Regions from separate parts of the Homo sapiens genome. Here region 1 is linked to region 2. Evidence: promoter capture Hi-C in human tissues and cell types (Jung and others, 2019). All regions are on one chromosome and are shown on one strand. Each heading gives the region's core, a stretch centred on a gene start or on the middle of the fragment in contact. The rest is flanking DNA. Distances are from core to core; before and after follow the strand shown. Region 1 has its middle 36 kb from the start of PAPSS2. Region 2 holds the start of LIPM (lipase family member M).

The links. The method cuts DNA at HindIII sites, captures the fragments that hold promoters and counts their contacts. A contact is called where the count stands out against the background at its distance.
Region 1: a fragment that was not itself captured here is called in contact with the fragment with the promoter of LIPM in region 2 in 1 of the 25 tissues and cell types used here (mesenchymal stem cells).

The regions. Positions count from the first base shown.
Region 1 is chr10:87,619,800-87,627,436 of GRCh38, reverse strand. No RefSeq gene overlaps it. Among named protein-coding and RNA genes, the nearest start is that of PAPSS2, 36 kb to the left of the region's middle. RefSeq lists enhancers at 85-893, 4,810-4,859, 4,900-4,999. The HindIII fragment of the contact is 3,557 bases long and covers 2,058-5,614 here.
Region 2 is chr10:88,796,735-88,803,979 of GRCh38, reverse strand. LIPM (lipase family member M) reads right to left here and starts at 1,250. Exons shown (of 9, transcript NM_001128215.1): 1 at 937-1,250. The coding sequence starts at 1,083. The HindIII fragment of the contact is 4,906 bases long and covers 568-5,473 here.

The DNA of each region.
Region 1 (7,637 bases), core at 2,587-5,086, 1.2 Mb after region 2:
GTAACTTCAAACTAGACAAAAAAAAGTCTTTTTAACAAACACACACTTTATAGCTTTCCTCACTAAAAGCACATCTTGCTTGTTTATACACTTTATACAGAATTGTTTGTCTTACATCTAGTAGTTTTAATTACATATATTAACTGTAATTTAAACTCTTAGTAACCTAAGTTCTAGTGAAAACCCTAGCAAATAATTTTGAACTGTTTTGTATCAGTATTTATAGATGAAAACTATTTTATAATTTTTTAGAAATATGCATCCTTAAATTATTGTTCATTAAGTATATTTAGCTTTTCTATATCATATAAAAATAAGATGTCAAAGTATATAAACTTAAACTTATGTTTATTATTGTTTTAGTATTTTAGCTTACAAATGACTTAGAGATTTTATGATTATCTATTATTTAATCAAACATAACATGAATTTAATATTTTAAATTACTGGCTGTGCACGGTAGCTCACGCTTGTAATCCCAACACTTTGGGAGGCCAAGGCAGGAGGATTGCTTGAGTTCAACAGTTTGAGAGTAGCCTGGGCAACATAGCAAAATTTTTTTTTAAAAATTAGCTGGGTGTGGTGGTGTGTACCTTTAGTCCCAGCTGACTTGAGGATCACTTGGGCCTAGGAATTTGAGGCTGGAGTGAGCTATGATTACGCCACTGCACTCCAGCCTGAGTGGCAGAGTGAGACTCTGTCTCAAACAAAAAGATTCTAAATTACTGAAAAGAATTTTGAAACTATGACACAGGAACCCTCTTCTAATGTTTTCCACAGTCATCCTGGGTCCCAAGTAGCCAAGTGGCACCCAGGAAGGCTGTGAAGGGCAGGGCCTGAGTCCTGAATTTACATACTAGTTGTAGAGCTAAGGACAGAAGACAGAGCTGTGAAGGAGAGGCCTGGAAGATGGAACCCCTCCCAGAATAGCCAGGAGGCAAAGCTGAGGCAGGTTAAGAAGGGGCCATATTGGGCCTGATTCTGCTTGGTAGCTGCTGGTCTGGGCACTGAGAACATGTCCCTAGGCCTTACCATGGCCACTTATTCAGACCCCCAACTCCAGAGGCTCAAAACCAAAAACATAAGTTCACAGTCTGTCAAATCAAGCAAGTGTCTAATTATTTTCAACTGGCAATTTTGAATCCATTCCTATTTTATCAACAATTTTCAAACTGGCTTTATTTACCAAATACTATCACATACACATAACACATATAGATATACAGACACACAGACAGAAGCAGATTTTATACCCTTCACAAAGATTCTCATTTGCTAGCTTCGAAATAGTTTTTCTTTTCCTCATTCACACTATCCATCTTCCAATTATGTGTTTCATTGCCCTAAGTAATTGTTAGCTAGGCAACCCTAAACTTGCATTTCTAAAGGGACAACTCAGGTGAAACAAGGTAGAAAGTTTATATCTCAAAAGCACAGAAATAAGATTTGAGACCTAAATACTGTACCATCATTCACTCTAGCCAAGGAAAAAATAGTGTAAGTAAAAGTTTACTTAAAACAGGCTGTCCAGAAAAGTGCCTTAAACAAAGGTATGAGTTGTTATGTAAATTTAAAACAATTGTAAGTTTCTTATGTATACAGCAGACACCCTTACAAATGCAGATTTCCTATATAGATGTAAATTTCTTTTTAAAAAAGGTTTCAAAATAGCCAGTTAAATGCCAGAAAGGTGTATTTTCGTTCTAGGAGTGGTGTTTTTTTTGTTGTTGTAGTTGTTTTTTTTTGTTTTTTTTTTTTTAACTTAGCTACTGTTTCTTAGCTAAAATTACTGAGTTCAGAGCGGAGTCTGTTAAGGAATAAAGCAAAGAAAGCATTCTCTATGCCTGGACTCAGCATGGATAGATCTGAAAAGGAAGCAAGTCTATTTCATCTCTAACAAGTCTACCAAAATGTTTTATAAACATTTTACCCAGGATAGCTTTCTTTTTGCCTTCAGGGTAGGATAGTAACCAAGCCAAACATTTAGCAGATTTAATTCTTCTTATCAATTAAACGGTTAAGCTTTTTATTTGCCTTTTATAAAGAGTATTTTCTTTGAAAGCAATAAAAACATTGAAATCTTTTTAGAAGCTTCACATTAATAGGCATCATTGGATGACTCTAATTCGGGAGCCCTCATTTTCAAATTCAATTTTTTGTTTTTTAACAGCTCTTTGTGGCCATCATCAAATGTATTTCTTAAAGTGCAGTGTTGTCCATCTGGAATGTTCCATTGTAATGTTAAATTATCTTTGGTAAGATTTTGCCATTTCTATAGCATTTACTGCTTCTGGGACCTAATATTCATACATGTAAATGTAGGCATAGTTGGAAGGTAGATTCCTTAATTTCTGAATTTCTGAAGAAATTAAGGATCTCATTTTTACCTTGAATCTTGGCTTTGGTTCTCATATTCTCTTAATCAACTTAGTCAATGATTTCTCCCTACTTAAAGTGTGCAAGAAAAAGAAAGGGGGTAGAACACAAAAATATCTGCAAATTTCCAAAAGCTAAAGTTTGCACCCCTGCAGTTTTGCCATCTACTGCCAGTTTCTGCCTGACCCCCTCAGGCATCCGAGGCCTCTAACTGGATCCAAGTCAGTTAATTATTGGATCCAGTTCAGTGCCTGACCCAGACCAGCTTTTGTCATGACTTCTGAATCTAGTTCAGATAAAAAATGTGCTCAACCTCAGATAGCTCAAAACACAAATCCGTGGAGCTCTGGAATCCAAGAGAGAACTTATGATCCCCGGTTGCCGTGATTTAGCAATGGACACAATGGGGCTCGGCAGGTCCCTGCTTGGTCCCTTGGTGCTCCTGGGAGACACTGGAATCTCTACTTCAAATTCTACTTTTGACACCATCTAAATTTAGACAAACTAAATTTAACAAAGTTTAATTAAGCAAAGAGTGATTTGTGAATTGGGCAGCCCCCAAAACAAAACAGGTTCAGAGGATCTCCAGCAGCAGCCATATGGTTGAAGATTTATGGACAGAAAAAGGAAAGTGACATATAGAAAATGGAAGTGAGGTACAGAAACAGCTGGATTGGCTACAACTTGGCATTTGCCTATTTGAACACAGTTTGAACACTTGGCTGCCTTTGATTGGTCAAAACTCAGGGACTGGCACAAGAGTAGGTTACAGTATGTTCACACATCCAGTTAGATTGCAATTCATTATGCACAAGAAAACTTTAGGCTGAACTTAAAAATGAAAATTAAGTTTAGCTTTAGGCTAAACAGTCATTGTTCTGGAAGTCAGCCTAGGCCTTCCCCTGAGCCTCTCATTTGATGCACAAATCCCAATTGTCACGCCAGACGTCTTTATTTTTGTTTACTCTTAAAATCTTATTTTGTCTTACTCTTACTTTACTTTGGTAAGTTCCTCAGTGATGTCTTTTTTTTTTTTTTTTTTTTTGAGATGGAGTCTTGCTCTGTTGCCCAGGCTGGAGTGCTCAACTCAACGACTTAAATATCCATCAGTAGAGGAGTGGTTAGGAAAATTATAGTATATCCTTATATTAGAATTCTATGCAGTCATTAAAAAGAACAAGGTAGAGCTGTTTGTTCTAATATGGAACACTCTCTGAGATATAATGTTCAGTAGAACAAATGCATAACAGGTGCATTGCTCTTACCATTTATGTAAAAAGAAAAAGGAGCTATGGCGATAAGTACATGTTATATTTGCAAATTTTAAATATGCTTATGTTTGCATTGTATATCTCTGGAAAGATACATAAAAAATGATTGGCAGTAGTTGCCTCCATGAAAGGGGATCAAGGATAGAAGAAAGACTTATTGTTCATTATATACTCTTATGTACTATTTAATTTTTTTACATATGCTTGTATTAAATCTTTAAAAATCATAATATAGAAATTTAATCACTAGGAAAAATCCTGCATTAAAGTGGAGTGTTGAATACTAGAATCCCTACTGCTCTTTGCTTTGCTTCTCTGGCAAGAGAGTTTTACAATTATGAAGTAAAATAACCTGTATTTGAGTTGGACTATTTCCCACATACTATAAAGAGAAATATTTCAACAGTCTTTCAAAGACAAAGCATAAATCAGTTAATGACAGTGCCTGGATTGGAACTGAGAGTTACAATGGTCATGTTCGTGTATATTAATCCAACAGAAATTCTTACTTGACTCTAAGAAAATGAATGTGTATAAAGGCTGAAGAGGCAAATGGCTTTATAAAAATGACTTTATAAAAATAACCTCAAATTTTTGTAAGTAGCTGAGATTAAGCCAAGTATTTGAAAAACTAGGAGCCAGAATTTATAATCATAGAAATCATAAGTCAGGCTGTACCTGGGTAATCAGAATCGAGTGAGATTTAAGTTTCTCTATGGGATGGGGGTAGTGACAGTTTGCATTGACCCTTCACTCATTCTACAAGCTTCACTGAGGCCCTACCCAGTTGATGCCCAGCGTGGTTCAAGGGGCTGGGGGCACAAGTGGAGATTTCACTGTTATTTTCTCGCCCAGAATTCGTTTCCCCCTTTTCTGGTGACAGCATCTTGATTGTCCTTTGGGAAACCACCAGTCCTACTCTTGGTGCATGTGGCTGTTTTAGGAGAGACCAGCCTTGCATCCCTCCCCGCATGACTCCTACCAGCCACAGGAGGCGTATCTGGCATATGCTAAGCCCCTGGCCACTGTGCTGTGCATGGAACACAAAGAAAAGCAATCCTGGGACTTCTGTGGAACTACTGAGAAGATTAATCTCTCTCCCCCAGTGGAGACAGAAGTTGTAAGAATTTGAGCTTGAGGCTGCCAGCAGCCTGACAGAGGCCAACAGAAACCAACATAGAGCTGAGAGAGACAGACTCTGGGTAGAATCATTTGGACACTAGATCCAGCTACATCTGAAATAGATCTATTTCTGGACTTGGTAGTTCCAAGAATGAATAGTAATTTCCTTTTTGTCACTCGAAACCAGATGCTCGTGTCAAAGAGAAGAGCTACAAGACTGTTTCTGCCCCCAAGGTGCTCCAGTCCATTGGAGAAGCAAACACATAACTGAGAATGACTCACCTTGTGATGGCTGCTATGATGAGGTTCATACCTGGTGCTACAGGACACAGAGAGGCATAATAATGTGGTAAGACATTAGAGTTGTAGAGGATCTTTGAGTTTATCTGCAGTAATCACCCTATTCGAAAGGAGACTCTGAAGCCTAGATTTACCCAAGAGATGGAACGTAACTAACAATGGTTCTGAACTGCACTCTACCCCTCTTGCATTAAAGTAATTAAATGGCATCTTTTCCTGATTACCAACAATTTTTTTCAATATTCATTTATTTGATATTCATTTCTATGTATTCATTGAAGAAAATTTATAAAATATTTTAAAAGCCAAAGAATGAAATAAAAATACCCACACAAGTTTGGTCAATATCCTTAGACTCTTCCTTCGTGAATTCTTTATTAATTTTCTTTTTTTAAAAAAAATAGAATCAGTCTGGGCATGATAACTCACATTTGTAATCTCAGCACTTTGGGAGGCCAAGGCAGAAAGATTGTTTGGGCCCAGAAGTTTGAGACCAGCCTAGGCAACATGGCAAAACTCTGTCTCTACGAAAAAAAAAAAAAAAAAAAAAAAAAATTGCTGGGCATTGTGGTATATGCCTGTAGTCCCAGCTACTTGGGAGGCTGAGGTGGGAGAACTGATTGAGCCCAGGAGGTTGAGGCTGCAGTGAACTGTGGTCATGCCACTGCACTCCAGCCTGAGCAACAGAGCAAGACTCTGTCTCTAAATAAATAAATAAATAAATAAATAAATAAATAAATAAATAAAATAGAATCACTTTGTTTTGTAATCTGCTTCCTAAATTTAACACCATTGTTATAGGCTGCTTCCAAGTTTTAAAATTCTTATTCAGAGATGAATGTTTTTACAGACAAATCTTTGTGTCCATCCTATTTCCCTTGGACAAATTCTCATCAATGGAATTGCTAGATCAAGGAGTTCACATTTTGAGACAAAAGATCACTTTGCAATTTTAGGCCACATAGGTCAAGATTTTACAGCACACACTTAACCTTTACTAGAAGGGGCAAAAAACTCAAGTTAGCTGCATACAAGAAGTAACATGCATTATAATTGTAGGGGCTACCTTCCTAATGCAGACAGGAGAGGGAATAATTTCACTGAGCCAGAAAGCCTATCTCCTGAGAGAGGAAGCAAGGCATGAATACACAACTTGTACATCTGTAACATATCATAAAATCTAAAGAGTAAGGTATTAAGAAGAAAAGTTATAAACACCAAGAGAACTCTGTGCCTTCACTCGCTCTTACTTTAAATCCATCCATTACACTGCCTGTCCCCAGAGCCACTGACCCCAAGCATGAATCAAGCCATGCACATCCTTGCCCAAACCCTTACATCGCTCTCTGCCTTCTCCCCACAATTCTTTAAGGAGACAGCCAAGTCTCTTAGCATATGACTCACAAGCTGTATTTTGAACCCTATCTCCTCTCCATTTACCTGTCCCAATGCACCCAGTGTTGCGGACATGGCCACTGTTCACCAAGGGGACCCTGCACGAGATCCACTCTACCTTGATCCACACTGTTTCCATTTTCTACAATGATATTCTCCCCCATCTCTACCTGTTGAAATTCTGCTATTCTTCAAGGCGTTCATCTGGTTTTGAATGACAATTACTAAATTGACTTAAGCAAAAAAGGAAATAACTATTTGTTCTTGGAACTGCAAATTCCAGAGGGGCTTTGGGCACCTCATGGTCCACTATAACATAAGCCAAGGGAAGGAGAAATTTGCTGGGATAAGCTTGGTAAGTTTGCAGAGGCGGTGGCATTGTACACAGCAGGCTCCTTGAGAGCAGGGATGGATCTCACCGAGCTTCCTCTGATCAACCAGCTCTGTGCCTCGCGCAAACACATCGCCAAATAAATGCTTGTGGAATTGTATTTTTCAGGAATTAAACACAGGTGAAATGACACAAAATTTACTAATCCAGCAAGATTGCATTTAATTGAATTATTCTCCATTACGTTATTATATTGGCCATTCTGTTTTTGATCCCAACCTTCCTAAACAGTCAAAGACTCATTCTGGTGGCTTAAAATTTTTTAAAAAGAAGCTCATTCTTAGTGGGTGGGGTGTTGTTTGCAATGAACTTCAGCTTGAAATACAGCCTTTCAGCATTTACTGGCAGTGTGAAATTCCATGTTATGGTTAGAGAGTCTGGAAACTGATTTGAAATTGGCCATTGTAGTTTGTTTCAGGGGAACATGAAAAAGGGTTGTATTAAAAAAAAATTGGGCTAAAGAAACCTGTTATATTTTCCCCTCACACTCCCCCAGTACACATACAAATCTGTGTGTCAGATACTTTAACAGAACTCCATGAAATGAATCTCTAGTGTGCAACTGACAAAACAATTTTGAAAAGGGCTTTATAACAGCTTGACTTGTTGCTGAGACCTCAGGACAAGAGGAACCAAGAGAGCCTTGTCCAACTGTTGACTTGCTTTTTATGCACTTCACTCCGCCCGAAGCAGCCGAAGAATGTTGCTCAGGGTGTTTCTGTACACACTGTGGGTAGCTGGTATGAGTGAGGTTGACATCAGATACTTGCCAATACATAAAT
Region 2 (7,245 bases), core at 1-2,500:
ACATTGCACATGATCGTCTTACTCATCTGGAGGTAGCCTCTCCTCTTTCTCACCTGGGAGGGTTTATTGCGTAGTATTTATAATTATAGACTTTGTGTTTAGGCAGTCCTGAATTTAAATAGTAGCTATGCTATTACATTGGTATGGCCTTGTTCAACTTGTTTAACCTCTTTAATCTCAGTATCTAGATTTGAAATATGTGAATGATCCTATCTACTGCACAGGGCAATGAAATTGAAATAGAATAGTATCTCTGCTTGTGTCATAATCCCTGCTATGGGATAAGTGTTACCATAGGGTGACCATTACTAAAACCCAGCTTAGAATTTGAAAAGCTACCAAAAAAAAAAAAAAAAAAAACCTCCTGGGAAAACTAAAGAGATGTACTGTCATTTATGCATTTTACTTGTAGGAGGTTCTGTGTAGCACTAACTCGGGGTCCTTTTATTGCTATTCAGCAAAGTACCAGTCCAGAAACAGGATAAAAAGAGTAGATTAGAATGGTATAAGATGCTACTAGAAGTGTGTGCCCTGATAGCAAGAAGCAAAGGCTGACACCTTTGCAATATGGAAAAAAAGAATAAAAGAATAAAAGGTACAGACAAAATGGAAATAATCAAGGGACTGGGGTGAACTTAAAAGGCCTTAATTACTTCTCCACTCATAGGATGAACCAAAGTGTTCAAGGAAAAGTTAAATTGTGTTTGAAGCTCAAAGAGATTAAGTCATTTGCCCAAGTTTACTAAATTTGTGTGAGGAGACCCCAGGTCTACTGACATCCAGTTTAGCATTCTTTCCAGTACAATTTGCTACTTCATCACTATGCTCTTCTAGTATGAATCACCACCATGTATAAATATAATACATAATGTAAATAATACACAGATACAAACGTTAACATGTTAAGTACCTCATTTCCCAGAAATCCCAACTTACAATATTCATGAATGCTTCTGGGTCCACAGCTTTAGTTGGCATATGTACTGAATTCACATTTCTCTGGAACATATACGCCACCAGAATCAGAAGCCACATTTCCATTCTGTGTGAGACAATCCACTGTCTTGACAAGGTTTCCAACATGGTCCAACATCTGCATTTATTTTTTCCTGCCAATGTAACAACTAATTCTAAAGTAAGAAGAATTTGTGGGTTTAAAAACTCTTCACATATTTTCCTGCTGCAATTCCCTCTTCCAATTCTGAAGCAAATTAGGCAAGCTTAGTTGGTAGGGAAAGAACACAAAGTAGGCTGGAAACATTGCCTAGGATGTCCCAATACTATCTGACTCCTCCCATTCCTCCCTCACACAACTTGTAATCCCTAATCCTTCAACTTCCAGGTGTGTAGAACTTTCTTTGATGTGACCTGGAATTTTGTGCATTTGATACAGCCTATTAAAACCCCTGTACTTTATCACCAGGTAATAAGGAGTGTAGGGAACCTCTTTCCTTCCACTCCTAGATTTTATCTTTCTTTGATAGATAGCAAAAGATGGAGTCTACAGAAAGCACTGAAAGTTTCTATAGTCATATTCTGGGTCTTCAATGATCACTGTTTTTTGGTTAAAGATAAGTGTTGTGATAAGTGCTTTTATTTAAAATATCTAAAATTTTATGGACATTTTCTACTTTTAGGGATGGGTGAGAACATTGATTAGAAGAAAATGAATCTTCCATGTTTAGCCCATTTCGTCTAGTTCAATTAAATAGATATACACAAAATTTTTATTTTAAGTTGTAATCACTAGTTAATCACTGGGATATGACTAGATGGATTATCTAGTAAATAAATCATCAGCTATTGTGTATTTTAGTTTTTTATATATATTTATTATATTTTAAGTTCTAGGGTACATGTGCACAACGTGCAGGTTTGTTATGTAAGTATATAAGTGCCATGTTGGTGTGCTGCACCCATTAACTTGTCATTTACATTAGGTATATCTCCTAATGCTATCCCTCCCCACTTCCCCCACCCCACGACAGACCCCGGTGTGTGATATTCCCCTTCCTGTGTCCAAGTGTTCTCATTGTTCAATTCCCACCTATGAGTGAGAACATGCAGTGTTTGGCTTTTTGTCCTTGTGATAGTCTGCTGAGAATGATGGTTTCCAGCTTCATCCATGTCCCTACAAAGGACATGAATGCTTCCTTTTTTATGGCTGCATAGTATTCCATGGTGTATAGGTGCCACATTTTCTTAATCCAGTCTATCATTGTTGGACACTTGAGTTGGTTCCAAGTCTTTGCTATTGTGAACAGTGCTGCAATAAACATACATGTGCATGTGTCTTTATAGCAGCACGATTTATATTCCTTTGGGTATATACCCAGTAATGGGATGGCTGGGTCAAATGGTATTTCTAGTTCTAGATCCCTGAGGAATCGCCACACTGTCTTCCACAATGGTTGAACTAGTTTACAGTCCCACCAACAGTGTAAGTGTTCCTATTTCTCCACATCCTCTCCAGCACCTGTTGTTTCCTGACTTTTTAATGATCCCCATTCTAACTGGTGTGAGATGATATCTCATTGTGGTTTTGATTTGCATTTCTCTGATGGCCAGTGATGATGAGCATTTTTTCATGTGTCTGTTGGCTGCATAAGTGTCTTCTTTTGAGAAGTGTCTGTTCATATCCTTCGCCCACTTTTTGATGGGGTTGTTTAAGGGATAATATCCAGAATCTACAAAGCTATTGTTTAAAATAATGGGTTGCAGCCTAGTTATTTTCATGAACTAAATGTCTCAGTTCAACTGAATGTGAGGCAAATGTGAACAATCCCTTAGCATACTAATGATTGAGCAGGTCAGGAGGGTTGATTTATTTGTCGTTTTAAGTAAAGAATGTGTTAAAAGTTAAAAAAATATTACTTAAAGTGAAATATTTCTCTATTACATCAATTCTTCAGGGTTGAGCTAACAGCAGCCACACCAATATGCAGACTTTTGGAATGTGGTGGGTGAAGGAGCCAGATGCTGAAACCAGAAAGATAAGTCTGTCAGAACATATCTTCCCACATGACTCAGCCTCCTCCACTTTGGGCTGGTTGCATGGGTGTGAAGAGGTAAGTCTGCATCCTTATCTGGACCAGTGTGAATGTCACTAACACAGCTAATCTGATGCCAGCTAGAGGAGCCATTTGACCTAATTAGAAGAGCAGAGAAAACACTTATCCAACACTCTGCAGAGCCCTGTGTCTTCAGCACCCCATGAGTTCTCCCTCAAGGTAGGCAAGATGAGATTTCAGAAAAGAATATGGGCTCCCATCACTGACATTTTAGGATTTGTAAATGTTATATAGCCAGAAAAAAAGATATCATTCAGCTTTCATTTTCAGAAATGTGAAGACACATTAAATGACTTGCCCCACATTGCCTAGCTAGACTGTGGCAAGGCCAGAACTGAGATTCAGATATTTTAATTTGCTGTTTAGCATTATGACTACATGGGAAAATATATAACACTTCGATGTCCTCTTCTCCATCAAAGATGAAGCCTAACCTACTAACAGGAAGCAATTACATCAATCTCTGTGAACTGTCTTTTTAAAAAGTTATCTTCTGGATTTAAAATTCAGAATAATTCCCAATGATGTCATTATGAGTTTGACAGATACCATCTGTCAAATACCATCTGTCAGATACCATATTACTTTGCTGTAATATGTTCAGGTAAGATCAACTCCCGCATTAGATTAATATGCTTGTGAATACTGTAGAGACTTTTTTAGGAGAGAGTTTATGGCAATAAACTGATTGGTTCAATCCCCCACCCATTCCTTTTTATTTTATTCCTTTTATTTTTTAGCTTTCTGCAGCTGCAGCCTTGGGTACTGAGTACATTGCAGAGAAAATATAATTAAATTTGGCTCTCAAATTCCTGGGGAACTTTATAAGGTCATAACTGTCATTTTGGAAGCAGGCAAAGTCACTTCCCAAGTCAGCTCAAAGAGCGACATTTTGAGCAAATATTAAATAAGTGCAGTTCTTCCCCACTGCAGAATTTTACAACACCCTTACCACCTTAGCAATCCCCAGCCCATGGAGAGCATCAGAAACATGATAAAAGAGATGGGAGGGGGCCGGGCGTGGTGGCTCACACCTGTAATCCCAGCACTTTGGGAGGCTGAGGCAGGTGGATCATGAGGTCAGGAGTTTGAGACCAGCCTGGCCAACATGGTGAAACCCTGTCTCTACTAAAAATACAAAAATTAGCCAGGAGTGGTGGAGGTCGCCTGTAATCCCAGCTATTTGGGAGGCTGAGGCAGGAGAATCGCTTGAAACCAGAAGGCGGAGGTTGCAATGAGCCAAGGTCCTGCCACTACACTCCAGCCTGGGCAACAAGAGTGAAACTCTATCTCAGAAAAAAAAAAAAAAAGAGAGAGAGAGAGATGGGAGTCCAAGTGTGCCAGTGTGTCTGCCCACTTCAAGGTGCTGATCTTGAGAGATTTCTCTTTAGACGCTTCTATTCAGGAACTCTGTGACCTTAGAAAATGGATTTTTGTCATCTGAGTACATAAAGAAGTAGGATCTGAAGTATCTGGATTTCTTAAAATGAAGAAAATTGATCTCCCTTAATGTACACTATCTATAAATTAATATTAAAATACAGAAAAGCAACAGGTCAAGTAGAATAAACATTAAGAAAAAGCTTTCTAATAAAAAAGTGAATGAAAATCAACCTGTGGCCCTACACATTCATATACCATGTGTAAAAACTGTAAAAACCAAAACAGCTAAAAAACCAACCAAACCAATAAAATGGTACAAAATAAAAACAATAACACAAGAATAAGGAAAAAAAAAAGGCTTGAAGCTGTAAAAACAAAAACATTCCCTAACCTGAAGGAAAGAGGTGGGAGCAAAGAGTACGTGTCAAAATCAGCCTCAGAAACTTCCACCCTTTATACACGGTACCCAGTAAAGCGCACCTCAAATTGGCTTAGTAAGTAAGTCCCTTCTACATTTCATTTGAACCATGAGGTGTAAAACCATAACATTTACCTTCATCTTTTGAATATGAGGTCAAACTCTCAAGGATTAACTCTATTTGGACATGAGAAATAATTCCTCTCAAAAATTAATGAAATAGTAAAAAAAAAAAATTAGAGCTTCTACAAATCCTGGTTCAAGTGAGGATTCAAGAATCAGAATGTACTATTAATGTGACCCAATTTATGCCCACAGTTTGTGAGTATCCCCGGTAATATGTATGCACTGAAATATACTTTTCCTCACATTTATTTGGCTTTAGAATACATAAAAATCAAAATTCCAACAATTGTTTCTAAACATTTTTAAGTTACATAATGTTTTGAGATGCTGACAAAAACAAGACTGTCTCCTCAGAAATATGTACATTTGCATCTCCATGCTAAATTTCATAATTTTTCAAGGGACGCATGGTCCTCTTGCATTTCTTCTGCAGAGCCGTTGGGCTTTGATATGGTTTGGCTGTGTCCTCACCCAAATCTCATCTTGCATTGTAGCTCCCACAATTCCCACGTGTCATTGGACGAACCTGGTGGGAGGTAACTGAATCATGGGAGCAGGTCTTTCCTCTGCTGTTCTCGTGATAGTGAGTAAGTCTCATGAGATCTGATGGTTTTAAAAACGGAAGTTTCCGTGCGTAAGCTCTTTTCTCTTGTCTGCCGCCATTCAAGACAGCCTTTGAGGCCTCCCAAGCCACGGGGAGCTCTAAGTCCAGTAAACCTCTGTCTTTTGTAAATTGCCCATTCTTGGGTATGTGTTTATCAGCAGCGTGAAAATGGACTAATACAGTAAATTGGCACCAGTAGAGTGGGGCGCTGCTGAAAAGATACCTGAAAATGTGGAAGCAACTTTGGAACCGGGTAACAGGCAGGGGTTGGAATAGTTTGGAGGGCTCAGAAGACAGGAAAATGTGGGAAATTTTGGAACTTCCTAGAGACTTGTTGAATGGCTTTGATCAAAAGGCTAATAGTGATATGGACAATGAAATCCAGGCTGAGGTGGTCTCAGATGGAGATGAGGAACTTGTTGGAAACTGGACTCTTGCTATGTTTTAGCAAAGAAACTGGCGGCAGAATGTTTTCTGTTTGAGTTACAGGTTAGAGGGCTTTCAAGATAGTGCTGTTCTACCCCAGTGTTGGACTGAGTTACTGAGTTTTATTAAAACTATTCTTTCAGGTTTTGAAAACTACACCGTTTAGTGTGGGGCTGTGCTATGGAAGCAATCTGAAAGTCAGAGTCAATGCTTTTGTGAGAACCAGTCTATAATAATGACCAAAACTGTTGTACTGAGTCAAGCTTATGTTCCACTCCTTCTCTTAATATGAGTTATCTCATAAGATACCCCGAGGTCTTCAGGCAAATGGTCTTCAGAGTGTTTGGATTACTTGCCCTCCCAGTTTGTCAGACATGCCTGCATGTGCTCTTAGACTCTAATTGGTATCTTAGCTACATCAATCAACATGTAATTGTTCTTCATATACTATACTCCAGTGTTGAAATATTACAAACCATTCCATATCAAAGTAAGCAAACAACCTTATCTCTGACTCTGGGCATTAGCCTACGAATTGCTTAAAGACCTACCATCTTACAGTTTTAAGGTTCTTTTTTCAAAGTCCAGCTAGTAGCCAATAATTTCTACCCTAGTCTGTGTATCCAGTAATTAACATAGGATGAGGAGTCAGACCAATAGCTCCACTACTTTCTATATATGTGACTTTGGGCAACTTTTCTACCTTTGCTGAGCCTGCATCCTCATTTGCAAAATGGTAACAGTATGGTACCTCCCTCTTAAGGTTGCTGTGAGAGTTAAGTGTGGTATGAATGCAGGACCTGGTGCAGAATAAGCATCCATCACACCTCAGCAATTTTACTTCCTGCAGGTTGTAATGGTTATGCTACTGGACAGTTGCTTCTCCACCATGGCCTCTTGCTGTTCTGCCTTGAAGTTTATAAGATAAACCAGAGTTTCTCCATCAACTCATGAAACTACAAAACATCTGCTGTAGAGCAGCAATAATATTTCCCCCAGACTGATTCAAGTGTGAATCCTGGCTCCTTCCCTTTCTGAGCCAATGATCTTGGTCAGGCCACTTAACCTCTCCGAGCCTCAGTTAATCTAACGTGAAAATAAGGTGCTGTGAGGATCAATGCGTAAATCTACGCCACATGGAACAAGCATATAGCAGGGGCTTAAAGAATTGTAATGCCTTTCCCCTTTTCTTTTCCTTCTTAAAGGAATTTGTCGTA